2 separate regions of the Homo sapiens genome follow, and region 1 is linked to region 2. The links are contacts of gene promoters, found by promoter capture Hi-C in human tissues and cell types (Jung and others, 2019). All regions are on one chromosome and are shown on one strand. Each heading gives the region's core, a stretch centred on a gene start or on the middle of the fragment in contact. The rest is flanking DNA. Distances are from core to core; before and after follow the strand shown. Region 1 holds the start of COL5A3 (collagen type V alpha 3 chain). Region 2 holds the start of ZNF121 (zinc finger protein 121).

What was found. Contacts are between HindIII fragments. The study calls those that stand out against the background at their distance.
Region 1: a contact is called between the fragment with the promoter of COL5A3 here and the fragment with the promoter of ZNF121 in region 2, in 1 of the 25 tissues and cell types used here (heart left ventricle).

The regions. Positions count from the first base shown.
Region 1 is chr19:10,009,071-10,015,692 of GRCh38, reverse strand. It overlaps COL5A3 (collagen type V alpha 3 chain), which reads left to right and starts at 5,189. Exons shown (of 67, transcript NM_015719.4): 1 at 5,189-5,395. The coding sequence starts at 5,308. RDH8 (retinol dehydrogenase 8) reads right to left here and starts at 2,210. Exons shown (of 6, transcript NM_015725.4): 1 at 2,093-2,210. The coding sequence starts at 2,195. RefSeq lists an enhancer at 1,420-1,589. The HindIII fragment of the contact is 11,359 bases long and covers 1,079-6,622 here.
Region 2 is chr19:9,583,190-9,589,325 of GRCh38, reverse strand. It overlaps ZNF121 (zinc finger protein 121), which reads left to right and starts at 4,822. Exons shown (of 4, transcript NM_001008727.5): 1 at 4,822-4,865. RefSeq lists enhancers at 4,432-5,243, 6,058-6,136. The HindIII fragment of the contact is 2,529 bases long and covers 3,402-5,930 here.

The DNA.
Region 1 (6,622 bases), core at 3,940-6,439, 430 kb before region 2:
CAGGCGTGAGGAGCCAGAGAGCCACAGCACCTGGCCAAGCTTTTATGCCCTTTTTTTTTTTTTTGAGACGGAGTCTCGCTCTTGGTGCCCAGGCTGGAATACAGTGGTGAAATCTCAGCTCACTGCAACCTCTGTCTCCCGGTTCAAGCAATTCTCCTGCCTTAGCCTCTCAAGTAGCTGGGATTATAGGCACTGCCACCATGCCTGGCTAATTTTTGTATATTTATTTATTTATTTATTGAGACAGAGTCATGCTCTGTCGCTTAGGCTGGAGTGCAGTGGCATGATCTCGACTCACTGCAAGCTCCACCCCACAGGTTCACGCCATTCTTCTGCCTCAGCCTCCCGAATAGCTGGGACTACAGGCATCCACCACCACGCCTGGCTAATTTTTTGTATTTTTAGTAGAGACGGGGTTTCACCATGTTGGCCAGGCTGGTCTCAAACTCCTGATCTCAGGTGATCTGTCCACCTAGGCCTCCCAAAGTGCTGAGATTACAGGCATGAGCCACTGTGCCCAGCCTCAAGCTTATGTTCTTAAGCAGGACCTCAGCATATGTACTATGTCTGCACATGCACCAGCATACGTGTTTGATATCCCCCAATGTGTGCACCCATAATCACCCATGAACACTCCTGGGGGCATTTGCCTCTTGTCTTCGGGTCAGTGTGATTTGTGGGTAGCAGGCACGTGAATGGGGTCACTTGCATCTACATGTGATATAGTGGGAAACATGGGTGCAAGGGATGGGCTGCCTGAGTTCAAATCCCAGCTCTGCTACTTTGCAGCTGGGAGACCTTGAGCAAAGACCTTTCACAGTCTGCACCTTAGTTTCCTCATTTCTAAAATAGGGCAGGCCAGGCACGGTGGCTCATGCCTGTAATCCCAGCACTTTGGGAGGCCCAGGCAGGCAGATCACCTGAGACCAGGAGTTCGAGACCGGTCTGGCCAACATGGTGAAACCTTGTCTATTAAAAATACAAAAACTTAGCCGGGTGTGGTGGTGCATGCCTTAATCCCAGAAACTCGGGAGGTCAAGGCATGAAAATCACTTGAACGTGGGAAGTGGAGGCTGCAGTGAGCCAAGATGCACCACTGCACTCAGCCTGGGTGACAGAGCAAGACTCTGACTCAAAATAAATAAATAATAAAATAATAATAAAATGGGGTGAATGATTGTGCCTGCCTCACGGGTGTGATGTGAGGATTAAATGACTTCCTGGATTCAGGGCACTTAGAATGCAGCTTGGTGCATTGTAAAAGCTCCATAAACATTAGCCTCCAGCAGTTTCATACACCCATCTGCCCGCCCATAGGGACACACGTTATTCCCTGCACACTGGCATTCAGGCTGTCATGCTCAAAGCTGTGTGCGTCTCTAAAACAGAGGGCAGAGGGCTGGGAGAAGCAGCCCTGCCAACTGGGGCAATGCCCTCACCCCCAGTCGCCTCTTTGTAAGTAACAACCCTTTGCCCACTTTGACTCCAGCATGCTCCCTCTGGGTCAGGGGTTCTCCTGGTTGGTTAGGATGCAGGTCCCAGGGATTTATTCTAGAGGTGCAGAAGGGCAAGTTCTTAGAACTAGAAGGCCATCCCTTCAACCCCCAAGGTCAGGAGCACTTAAGAAGCTTATCTCAGTAAAAGCAATAATCTGGGGAGACGTGGAAGAGTGAGCATCAGGGTAGTGATTATTCCAATCTAGGAAATGCCCTAGTGAAACCCTTCTAAAAATAACCCCCACCCACCCCCTGCCACTCTCAGCATGCTTTATTTTGTGTCTCAGCACTTATTCCCACCAGATAGAGCAACAATTTCTTTTTATCTGTTTATCACCCATTCTCCCTCTCCTCCCCACATGACACCCGTCCTGAGGGCTGAGATTTTTGTCTATTTCATCTCCAGTTGTGTTGCCAGCATTCAGAGCACCCAGAAGATGCTCAAGAAATATTTCTAGGATGAGGGGATGATTCCTGGAGGGAATCCTGGGTCTCCCCAAGCCCACAAGTGCAGCTGGGAGGGATGGGTAGGGGAGACAGTGCTGGGGAAGCCGTTTCCACCCGGCTGCCTCCTAGTGCCACCCTGCACTTCTTACCCTGGTAGCGCTTCTTGGGGTCATGGGCCAGTTGCACTGCAAGTTCCAGACCAATTCCTGATGAGCAGCCGGAGATCAACACAGTCCGGGGTGCAGCGGCCATGTTGATCCCCTCCCTGGACTCGTGACCTCCGCCGGGCAGCACCTGACTCTGACCATTCATCCTGGGCTCATCTGCTCCCTCCTAACCCCCTCCCACAGATCCCCTGCAGGGCAAAGCCTCTGCCCTCCCCCGGAGACCCTCAATTCTGGACTGACCCTGAACAGGCAGTAAGAGAGAATCTCTTAAATCCTCTCTGCACCTCATTTTCTTCATCTGCCAAACATTTCTTCTCCGCACCTACTATAGACATCACTGGTTTTTGTTTGTTTGTTTTTAAGAGACAGCATCTTGCTCTGTCACTCAGGCTGGAGTGCAGTGGCACCATCATAGCTCACCACAGCCTCAAGCGATCCTCCTATCTCAGCCTCCAGAGTAGCTGGGGCTACCGGCGCACACTACCATGCCCAGCTAATTTTTAAATTTCTTTTTCTTTTAGACATGGGATCTTGCTATGTTGCCCAGATTGGTCTCGAACTCTTGGCCTCAAGTGATCCTCCTGCCTTGGCCATTTGTAACTGTTTTCTTAATTTATAATTTTTATTATGACTGTAAATTATTATTATTATTTTGAGACAGAGTCTTGCTCTTGTCACCCAGGCTGGAGTGCAGTGGTGCAATTTCGGCTCACTACAACCTCAGCTTTCCAGGGTAAAATGATTCTCCTGCCTCAGCCTCCTGAGTAGCTGGGATTACAGGCGTGTGCCACCACACCCAGCTAATTTTTGTATTTTTAGTAGAGATGAGGTTTCGCCATGTTGGCCAGGCTGGTCTTGAACTCCTGACCTCAAGTGGTCCAGCCGCCTCAGCCTCCCAAAGTGTTGGGATTACAAGCATGAGCCACTGAGCCTGGCCGAGTATAAATTATTTAGGGCTGGGGAGAGTTTCTGTGAAAGTTGGGGGGAATTAGTGTCTGTATTCTGGGTGAAGAATCTCTGATTGAAGGGAGAGAGTGAGAGAAGGAGACAGAGAATGTGGATCCAGAAGTGTTTCATAGAGGGAAGGGGTGTAGAACTGTCAGAAGATGTAGTTAGACTATAGGAAGAACTTCCAGCAAGGCAGGGCAGGGCAGGAATTTTGTGAGAGTCTTTTAGTTGGAGAAGTCTCAGCCTCAGATGTCCCTGGGGTGGGAGGAGGCACAGCTTACAGAGATACCCTCTCCTCCTCCCACCCTGGGGGGCCCCCATCTCCCCCTCAGGCTTGATGGGGCCCCAACCCCTCCTCTTCAGGGACACAGAGACTCTTTGTCTGGGGAGTCAGAGGCTGGGAGGGAGGCACTGCTTGCGTCTCCCTCTTCCCCTGGGGCGGAGGTGGGGGAAGCAGGGTTCGGGGAGCAGTTCAGGGCTCAGAATACGCCTCTTGGTTCCTCCCCTCCCTGGGGAAACACCCTCACATCCTGCGTGTCTGCGCTTGTCCAATTGCATAAAAGCTCTATTTGACCTCATGGGGGCCTCTTCATGCTGGAGGTGGGGGTCCCAGCACGGTGAGGGGGGCCTCTGCCTCATCCCAAGAATGGCAAGAATCCACCCCTTCCTCCCCAGTGGCTGTGCGTTGCTTTGCGACAGGGACAGATTCCCACCACCTCCCACCAACGCGCCGGCCTTTTTTTTTGAGACAGACAGAGTCTTGCTCTGTTGTCCAGGCTGGATCGCAGTGGCACAACCTCAGCTCACTGCAACCTCCACCTCCCGTGTTCAAGTGATCCTCCCACCTCAGCCTCCCAAGTAGCTGGGACTACAGGCGCCAGTCACAATGCCTGGCTAATTTTTGTATTTTTAGTAGAGATGGGGTTTCGCCATGTTGGCCAGCTGATCTCTAACTCCTGGACTCAAGCGATCTGCCCGCCCCAGCCTCTCAAAATGCTGGGATTACAGGCATGAGCCACCGCACCCAGCTCAGACTCCCTCATTTGGTGGGGATTTGGGATTGAGGCCGGGGCATCCACTGGAGACCTGAGTTGGGGCGGGGGGAGATGAGGGTTAGGGATGGAGATGAGACCCTTTATTTGAGGAATCAAGAATTTGGGGAAAGTGAAAACTGTGTTTTGGGATCTGTGGTGAGAATTTGGGACCAGGACACGTGACTTAGGGATTTGAGTGGACAGATGAAGGTTTGGAGTAAGGCTGGGGACCCCATTTTGGGATCTGGGGTGAGATTTGAGGTGGGATGAGGACCCGTTAGGGACTTGAAGGAAAGGCTTTGGGGCTGAGGCTGGTACCTCCTATTGTGCAGCTGAGGGACTGAGGATAAAGCAGGTAGGTGAGTGAGAGTTCGGGGTGAGGTTGGGACCCCAGTTGGGGGCCTGAGTGAGGCAGAAAGGACTTGGTGCCAGGGGCGGTGGCTCATGCCTGTAACTCCAGCGCTTTGGGAGGGCAAGGCCGGAGGATCGCTTGAGACCAGAAGTTCAAGACCGGCCTGGGCAGCATAGCAAGATCCCGGTCTCTACAAAATATACATATTTTAAAATTAGCTGGGTGTGGCAGTGTGTGCCTGTGGTACCTGCTTCTCAGGAGGCTGAGGCAGGTGGATGGCTTGAACGCAGGAGTTGGAGGCTGCAGTGAGCTATGATTGCACCACTGCACTCCAGCTTGGGTGACAGATCAAGACCCTGTCTCCAAAATAAAATGTAAAAATAATAGAAAATAAAAAAGATTTGGTATAAAGCTGCACCTCCTCCTAATTCTAGGGCCTGGATGGAGGCTGAAGTCTTGAATGAGGTTAAGGTCTCCTTTGAGGGGATCTGCTAGGCGGAAAAGGTTTGGGGTAAGACTGGAACCCTCGAACTCTAGGGCTGGGTGGGAGTGACCCTTCTCCTCCACAGTGGGGTGGGGCAGGAACAACCCAGCTCCTGGCGCTGGGCTCCACCCCAGCCAGCCAATCAGCCCTCAGCACAAAGTTTCCCAACTTCCCAGTCCAGCTGTCAGCGCTCCCCCTCCAAAAAGCCCCGCCTGGCCAGGCGCTGGAGCGCAGGGCGAGGCCAGGGCGGGGTCTCGGGCAGTTTCCCGCGGACCCTGAGAGGAGCGGCCGCCGCGAGTGACTGCACCGAGCCCGAGAAGTCGCCGCGCCCCGCAGCCGCCCCGACTGGTTCCCCGCCTTGCCCGTGGGCCCCGCCGGGATGGGGAACCGCCGGGACCTGGGCCAGCCGCGGGCCGGTCTCTGCCTGCTCCTGGCCGCGCTGCAGCTTCTGCCGGGGACGCAGGCCGGTGAGCCGGGAGGGAAGAGATGGGACCCAGGGTCCACGACTCAGAGAGGCTCTAAAAGAGCGAGGGGTGGAGGGGGGTGGAGGGGCGTGGAGGGGAAGGGCGTGGGCGCCGCGTGCGGCCCCGGTGTGATGTGGGCGCATGAGTATCTGACTCTGGGTGATTTGTGGGTGTGACAGCTCGGGGTGGGGGTGGGGATGTGTGAGTGCGTTTTCTGGCGAGCGCGTGGGAATGCATGCAATGTGCAGGTGTGTGCATGTGTGTATGTGTGTGTAGCATGTGTGTGCATTTGGAGTGAAGTTGCGTATGTGCTTGCGTGTGGAGGTTGATGGTGATAGTGTGACTGTGAGTGACAGGGCAGTGCTGGGACGGTGTGTATTGCGACAGGTGAGTATGCACTTGTGCTCTTGTCTATGTGCTGATTTTCGAGGGTAACCGTGTGAGTGGTTATGCGTGTGATTGTGTGTCTCTGAGTGCCGCTATGAGGGGTGTAGTTATGATTTTTGGGTGCAAATAATTGCCCATGAGGATGAAGGTGGGTGGGGACAAGTATTGGGGGGTGCTCTTCGGGAACCCACAGTTTCCTTTGCGTCTCTTTAAATGGCTTCACCTCATTCTCCCTTTTCCTCCTCTGCCCCAAATTGGCGAGCGCCCATCTCCTCCCCTCCCTCCCTGTTGCCCCCTCCCCCACCCCGCGGTCCCCAGAGCCGCGATCAGCACCATGGACAGGGCTTCGGGGAGGGCCGCGGTGAGGGGCGAGACGGGGCGGGGCGCAGGGCGGGGCAGGAGTGGAAGTTGCTCCCCCCCTCCCCACCCCAGCTGCTGGAGCCTTGGGTGTTTTTCCCGAGGAATTTCTCAGGAGCCCCCAAGGGGTCCCGGGGGCCGCCGGATGGGTGAGTCAGCGCTGACGCACGCCCAGCTGCGCGCATCTGGCTGGGCGCCCTGTCCCGCCCCTCAGGGTTCAGAGTGGGGGGCGCTTCGGGAGTCAGGGGATGGCGTAGCTTCTCAAGTGTTGGAGATGGGGCTTCCCTGATCTGAGAGACCCTAGACTAGGTCCTCCTGGAAATCCCTTTCTAAGGTGAGCTCAGTCTCCCAACACACACACACACACACACACACACACACACACACACACACACCACAGCACACTTCTTACTTTGGAGTCCAGGAAGGTGCCTGTCCATATGGTTAATCCCTGATTGGACTATGCCGCATTCCCACGCTCACACA
Region 2 (6,136 bases), core at 3,573-6,072:
TGGACCTTTACTGGACACTCTGCTGAATAACTGGAGTGGCACTTGTGCTTTAGTCCAATTGGCTATCCCTTTCACCCTGGCATTTCAGCAACCAGAGGGAGGAAAGATAAGACTTCGTAAAGCAAGACAAGCCCGTTATAGGTCTTTCAACTCTCACGGCTATTTAGATGCAATTGGAGTCCCACGGGGAATACCAGATCAATTTAAAGCCCAAAATCCAATAGCTGCAGGATTTAAGTCAATATTTTGGTAGGCGACAGTTAATAAAAATGTAGATTGGGTGGGCCGGGCGCGATGGCTCATGCCTGTAATCCCAGCACTTTGGGAGGCCGAGGCGGGCGGATCACAAGGTCAGGAGATTGAGACCATCCTGGGTAACGCGGTGAAACCCTGTCTCTACTAAAAATACAAAAAATTCACCGGGCATGGTGGCAGGTGCCTGTAGTCCCAACTACTCAGGAGGCTGAGGTAGGAGAATGGCATGAACCCAGGAGGCGGAGCTTGCAGTGAGCCAAGATCGCACCACTGCATTCCAGCCTGGGTGACAGAGTGAGACTCCATCTCAAAAAAAAAAAAATGTAGATTGGGTAAACTACATCTATTACAACCAACAGCGATTTATTAACTACACTAGAGATGCTGTTAAAGGAATAGCTGAGCAATTGGGGGCTACTAACCTGATGGCTTGGGAAAATAGGATAGCTTTAGACATGGTATTAGCAGAAAGAGGAGGAGTTTGCATCATTATTAAAACTCATTGTTGCAACTTCATCCCAAACAACACGGCCCCTAATGGAAGTATAAGAAAGGCATTGCAAGGCCTGACTCCTCTATCCAATGAGTTGGCCAGCAATTCAGGGGTAAATTACCCATTTACAGAATGGCTAGAAAAGTGGTTCGGTAAATGGAAAGGAATAATAGCCTCAATTCTCACCTCCCTTGTAGCCGTAATGGGTGTACTTATCCTTGTCAGGTGCCGTGTCATACCATGCATCTGTAGGTTGGTGCAGAGGCTCATAGAAATGGCACTTACTAAAACCTCCTTTAACTATCCTCCACCTTATCCAGAGAAGCTCCTTCTTTTGGAAAATCAAGCAGAACAACTAAGTCAAGACATGTTAAATAAGTTTGAAGAGAAAGCCATAAAAAAAATGCAAGAGGAGGAAGTTGTTGAAAATGAATTATAAATTTCTCTTCAAAGAATTAATATGTCAGTATGCTCAATTCTTTGCCTTCTACTTTTAAACTTAACTTCCTCATAAAGCACCCTTTTCCCAAACCGCTCACTCCATCACTCTCTTTAAATTAGTCAATCGGAATTAGTTTAGCCTGTGAGGTCCAACCCTAGCCAGTAGGGGAACGACAGAGCAGTAGGGACCACGTGTGTCAGGAATAAGAACCCCTTTCCCTCCCTTGTCCAGGTGTGTGCCCACCATTGCTCCATCTGTGAGAGTGCACCCTTCTATAGAAGTATCTTGCCTTGCTGAGAATTAAAAAGAAAATTTTATATTCAAGTGTTATTTCTTTTGTGGCACCAAAACTTTATATGTGACAGACTGGAAGTTCAAGAGCAGCCTGGGCAACATAGAGAGATCTCTTCTCTACCCAAAATATTTTTAAAAATTAGCTGGATGTGGTGGTGTACATATGTATTCCCTGGTACTTGGGCAGGAGGATTACTTGAGCTCACAAAGTAAAGGCTGCACTGAGCAATGATAACGCTACTACACTCCAGCCTGTGTGACAGAGTGAAACCCTGTCAAAAAGAAAAAAAAAAAGTAGAATGTGATTTTAAACATCAGAACTAAACAGAATGATATGCTCAGAGAGGTTTCCCTATCCCTATCCTCTCCATTTTGTTCTTATCCCACCATTCTGTTCAAGCCCTTCCCATCTATCCCCGATAGATTCTGAATCTTATTATTTTCAGGATAGTCCTATCAGTGTTTCCCTGTACTCAGAATGAACAGATAATTACATATTTTATTTTTATTTTTTTGAGACTGAGTCTCACTCTATCGCCCAGGCTGGAGTGCAATGGCGCGATCTTGGCTCAATACAACCGCCGCTTCCCGGGTATAAGCAATTCTCCTGCCTCATCCTCCCGAGTAGCTGGGATTACAGGCGCCCGCCACCATGCCCGGCTAATTTTTGTATTTTTAGTAGAGGCGGAGTTTCACCATGTTGGCCAGACTTGTCCTTCAGAACTTTTTAACTGGAAGATATGCTGCCAGGCTGCTGAGCATCGTCACTTAGTCATATAAGCCCCCTCTTTGATTCCCCTTCTCCTCTGGGAGTCTTTCTTCCTTTCCACCCTTTCTGAGCAGCGACCCACAGGTAGAAGCCTGTGGATATTCTCTTGCTGTTTGCTACCTCCCGCCACTCCTTACCTGTCAAAGCACATCCCAAATGAAGCTTGTGTGCTACTGCCGCCTTGTGGTCACGTCTTTTTCCTTACTCAGCCAAGAAATCACTTACACCCTGAATGCGTATATGGTTTTATTTTTCACATTTAGATCCCTAGTCCATTTAGAGTTTATTCTTGTATATGCTGTGAAGTATGGATTTAATTTCATCTTTTCTCTGATGGCTACCCAGCTGTCTTAGACTTTCCATTACAAATGGCTTTTTTTGCCTCATTGATCTGAAATACCTTTTTTTTTTTTTTTTGAGATGGATTTTCACTCTTGTTGCCCAGGCTGGAGTCCAGTGGCGCGATCTCGGCTCACTGCAACCTCTGCCTTCTGGGTTTCAGCGATTCTCCTGCCTCAGCCTCCCGAATAGCTGGGATTACAGAAAGCCCACCACCATGCTTGGCTAATTTTATTTTTGTATTTTTATTAGAGACAGGGTTTCACCATGTTGGACAGGCTGGTTTCGAACTCCTGACTTCAGGTGATCCTCCCGCCTCAGCCTCCCAAATTGCTAGGATTACAGGTATGAGCCACCGCGCCTGGCAAAATACCACATTTATGAACCAAATTCCTACATGTTCTTGGGTCTGTTTTTAGATATTTTATTAGTCTGTTTCTGCTTCATGTGCTAGTACCACATAGTTTTAATTATAGAGGCTTTATAGTATGTCTTATTTATTTTTATTTTAATATAATTTAATTATTTGCCTTGTGTGAAAACTGTTAATAGTATGTTTTAACATCTGCTGCTCATCATTGCTTTTGTTTTTGTTTTCTTGGTTATTATCAGATATTTATTCTTCCACATAAACTTTAGTATCAACGTACCTAACTCCAGAAAAAACTTTTAATATTTTTACTGGGATTATGTTACATTTCTGAATAAACCTGGGGAGAATGTCTGGTGTCAGTGCTATTTTACAATGTAGGAAATGTGGTCCTGGCCCATGTGGGAAGATCAGAAAAATAACAATAGAAATACATGTTTTTGGCCAGGCGTGGTGGCTCACATCTGTAATCCCAGCACTTTGGAAAGGTGAGGCAGGCGGATCATGAGGTCAGGAGTTCGAGACCAACTGGGCCAATATGGTGAAACCCTGTCTTTACTAAAAATACAAAAATTAGCCGGGCATGGCGGCGCCTGCCTGTAATCTCTGCTACTCAGGAGGCTGAGAGAGAAGAATCGCTTGAACCCGGGAGGCAGAGGTTGCAGTGAGCAAGATCGTGCCACTGCACTCCAGCCTGGGCAACAGAGCTAGACTCCATCTCAAAACAAAAACAAAAACATATTTAAAATTTTTTTTAAACAGAGACGGGGTCTTGCTGTATTGCCCAGGCTGGTCTCAAACTCCTGGCCTCAAACGATCCCTTGGCCTCCCAAATTGCTGGGATTATAGGCATAAGCCACCATACCCAGCCAGAAATACATACTTGATGAAGACAAAAAAAAATCAAGATTTACAGAAAATATTATTATATTGAAAACGTGGCCGGGTGCGGTGGCTCATGTCTATAATTCCAGCACTTTGGGAAGCTGAGGGAGACAGATCATTGGAGGTCAGGAGTTCGAGATCAGTCTGGCCATCATGGTGAAACTCTTCTCTACTAAAAGTACAAAAATTAGCTGGGCGTGGAGGCAGACATCTGTAATCCCAGCTACTCGGGAGGTTGAGGCAGGAGAATCACTTGAACCCGGGGGGCAGAGGTTACAGTGAGCCGAGGTCATGCCACTGCACTCCAGCCTGGGCAACAGAGTGAGATCTGTCTCAAAAAAAAATAAAAAATGAAAAAGAAAAACGAAAAAAGAAAACGCAATGGAACCAGCAGGTTCTAAAAAATAAAGAATGAAGAAATAAAGGCCTACAGAAAGCCTGACTGAATAGAAGAGATAGACCATGCCATTCACTGGCAGCTTTATCCATATGGAAGAATCATGGAAAGGCTCTAGGAACATGAGATGTATACAAACAAGCTTTATATATATGTATACACACATATATATTTTAATAAAGGATGTTGCTATTTTGCCCACGCTGGTCTTGAACTCTTGGACTCAAGCTATCCACCTGCCTTAGCCTCCCAAAGTGTTGGACTTACAGGCCTTAGCCACTGTGCCCACCTGGGAAAAGCTCTGCAGGAGCATCCCCTGGGGTGCGTCCCATCCCCCACGCCCGCCCTTCCAGCAGGTCCGGCCACCTGAACCGCCGGCTAGCCGGGTCCCACCTCTAAACCGCCCCCAAGTAAGGGCCTGTCCGCGCCCACCCGGGAAGAAACTACAATTTCTGTGTTTGACTGGGTCCTATGTGGCTGAAACTCGAACCCAGGAGCCCCGCCCGGCCCGAGGCTCGGAGCGGAAGTGACGTCAGCGCACAATCGCCATCTTTTCCGGCGCTGGCTCCGCATGGTCAGTGCCATTTCGCCTTTATCGTGGTGGAGTCCACCCTGGCTGTGGTGAGTTCCGCCTGCTTGGGGATCCCGGAGATAGCGGGGGGCGGCAAAGGAACGATTGGGTGCTGTCGCCCAGGAGCCTCTCCGATCCGCCTCGTTTCACTCTCTTCTCCAGGGGCTGTCGGTCCTCCTTGCGCGGCCAGTGGCTAGAGGCCGCAGGCTCAGTGGGTCCCAGTCAGGAGCCAGGTCGGGAAGTGTGTTTGTCCCGACTCCGCGCGTTTTCTGGAGTGGTTTCATCCGCTGTGCTCCCTTCTTCAAAAGCTTGGAAAGCAACCTTTGTGAGTTTCTTTCTTTCTGAAAGTAAAAGGATTTCTGCCGTTCCAGTCAGGTTGGCTCCGGCCCCGCATTTCCGCGCCTCAGGAACCTGGCGTTTCCGGCATGTTCCTGGTGAACACCTGCAGAAAATTGGTTTCAAGAGGGCTCTGACTTCCATTTCTTTGCTTAAAAATGTCTCGTCTGAGAATCTGGCATTGATGTCCTATTCTTATTTTTGACACATTACTTTCTGATGGAAAAAAAATAGTCGTTTAGGGTGTGCCTATATCTGCATGTAAATATGAACACGTGTAGACTGTGAGCCTTTAGTTTCTTATTTTATTTTCTTGGACTTAATGTTTTTTGTTGTTACCAGCTACAAGCCTTTCTACAAAAGAAAGGCAGGCTGGGCGCGCTGGCTCACGCCTGTAGTCCCAGCCATTTGGGAGGTCGAGGCGGGCAGATCACCTGAGGTCAGGAGTTCGAGACCAGCCTGGCCAACATGGTGAAACCCTGTCTCTACTAAAAATACAAAAAATTAGCCAGGCGCGATGGCGGGCGCCTGTAGTCCCAGCTACTCGGGAGGCTGAGGCAGGAGAATGGCGTGAACCCGGGAGGCGGAGCTTGCAGTGAGCCGAGATCGCGCCACTGCACTCCAGCCTGGGCAAAAGAGGGAGACTCCGTCTCACACACACAAAAAAAAAAAAAAAAAAAAAAAAGCCAGGCTTGGTGGCAGTCCCCTGTAATCCTAGCTACTTGGGAGGCTGAGGCAGGAGGATTGCTTGAACCTGAGAGGCCGAGGTTGCAGTGAGCCGAGATCTGCCACTGCACTCCAGCCTGGGCGATGAGAGCGAAACTCCGTCTCAAAAAAGAAAGAAAGGCAATAATACACAGCTGTTGTCTTTATCTGAAGTTCCTAGGTCTGTACCCCCCCACAGAGCTTCAAAACGGGCCCACAGGAAGAAAGGATGGAGGCTTTTGTTTGTTTTTTTCAGACGGAGTCTTGCTCTGTCGCCCAG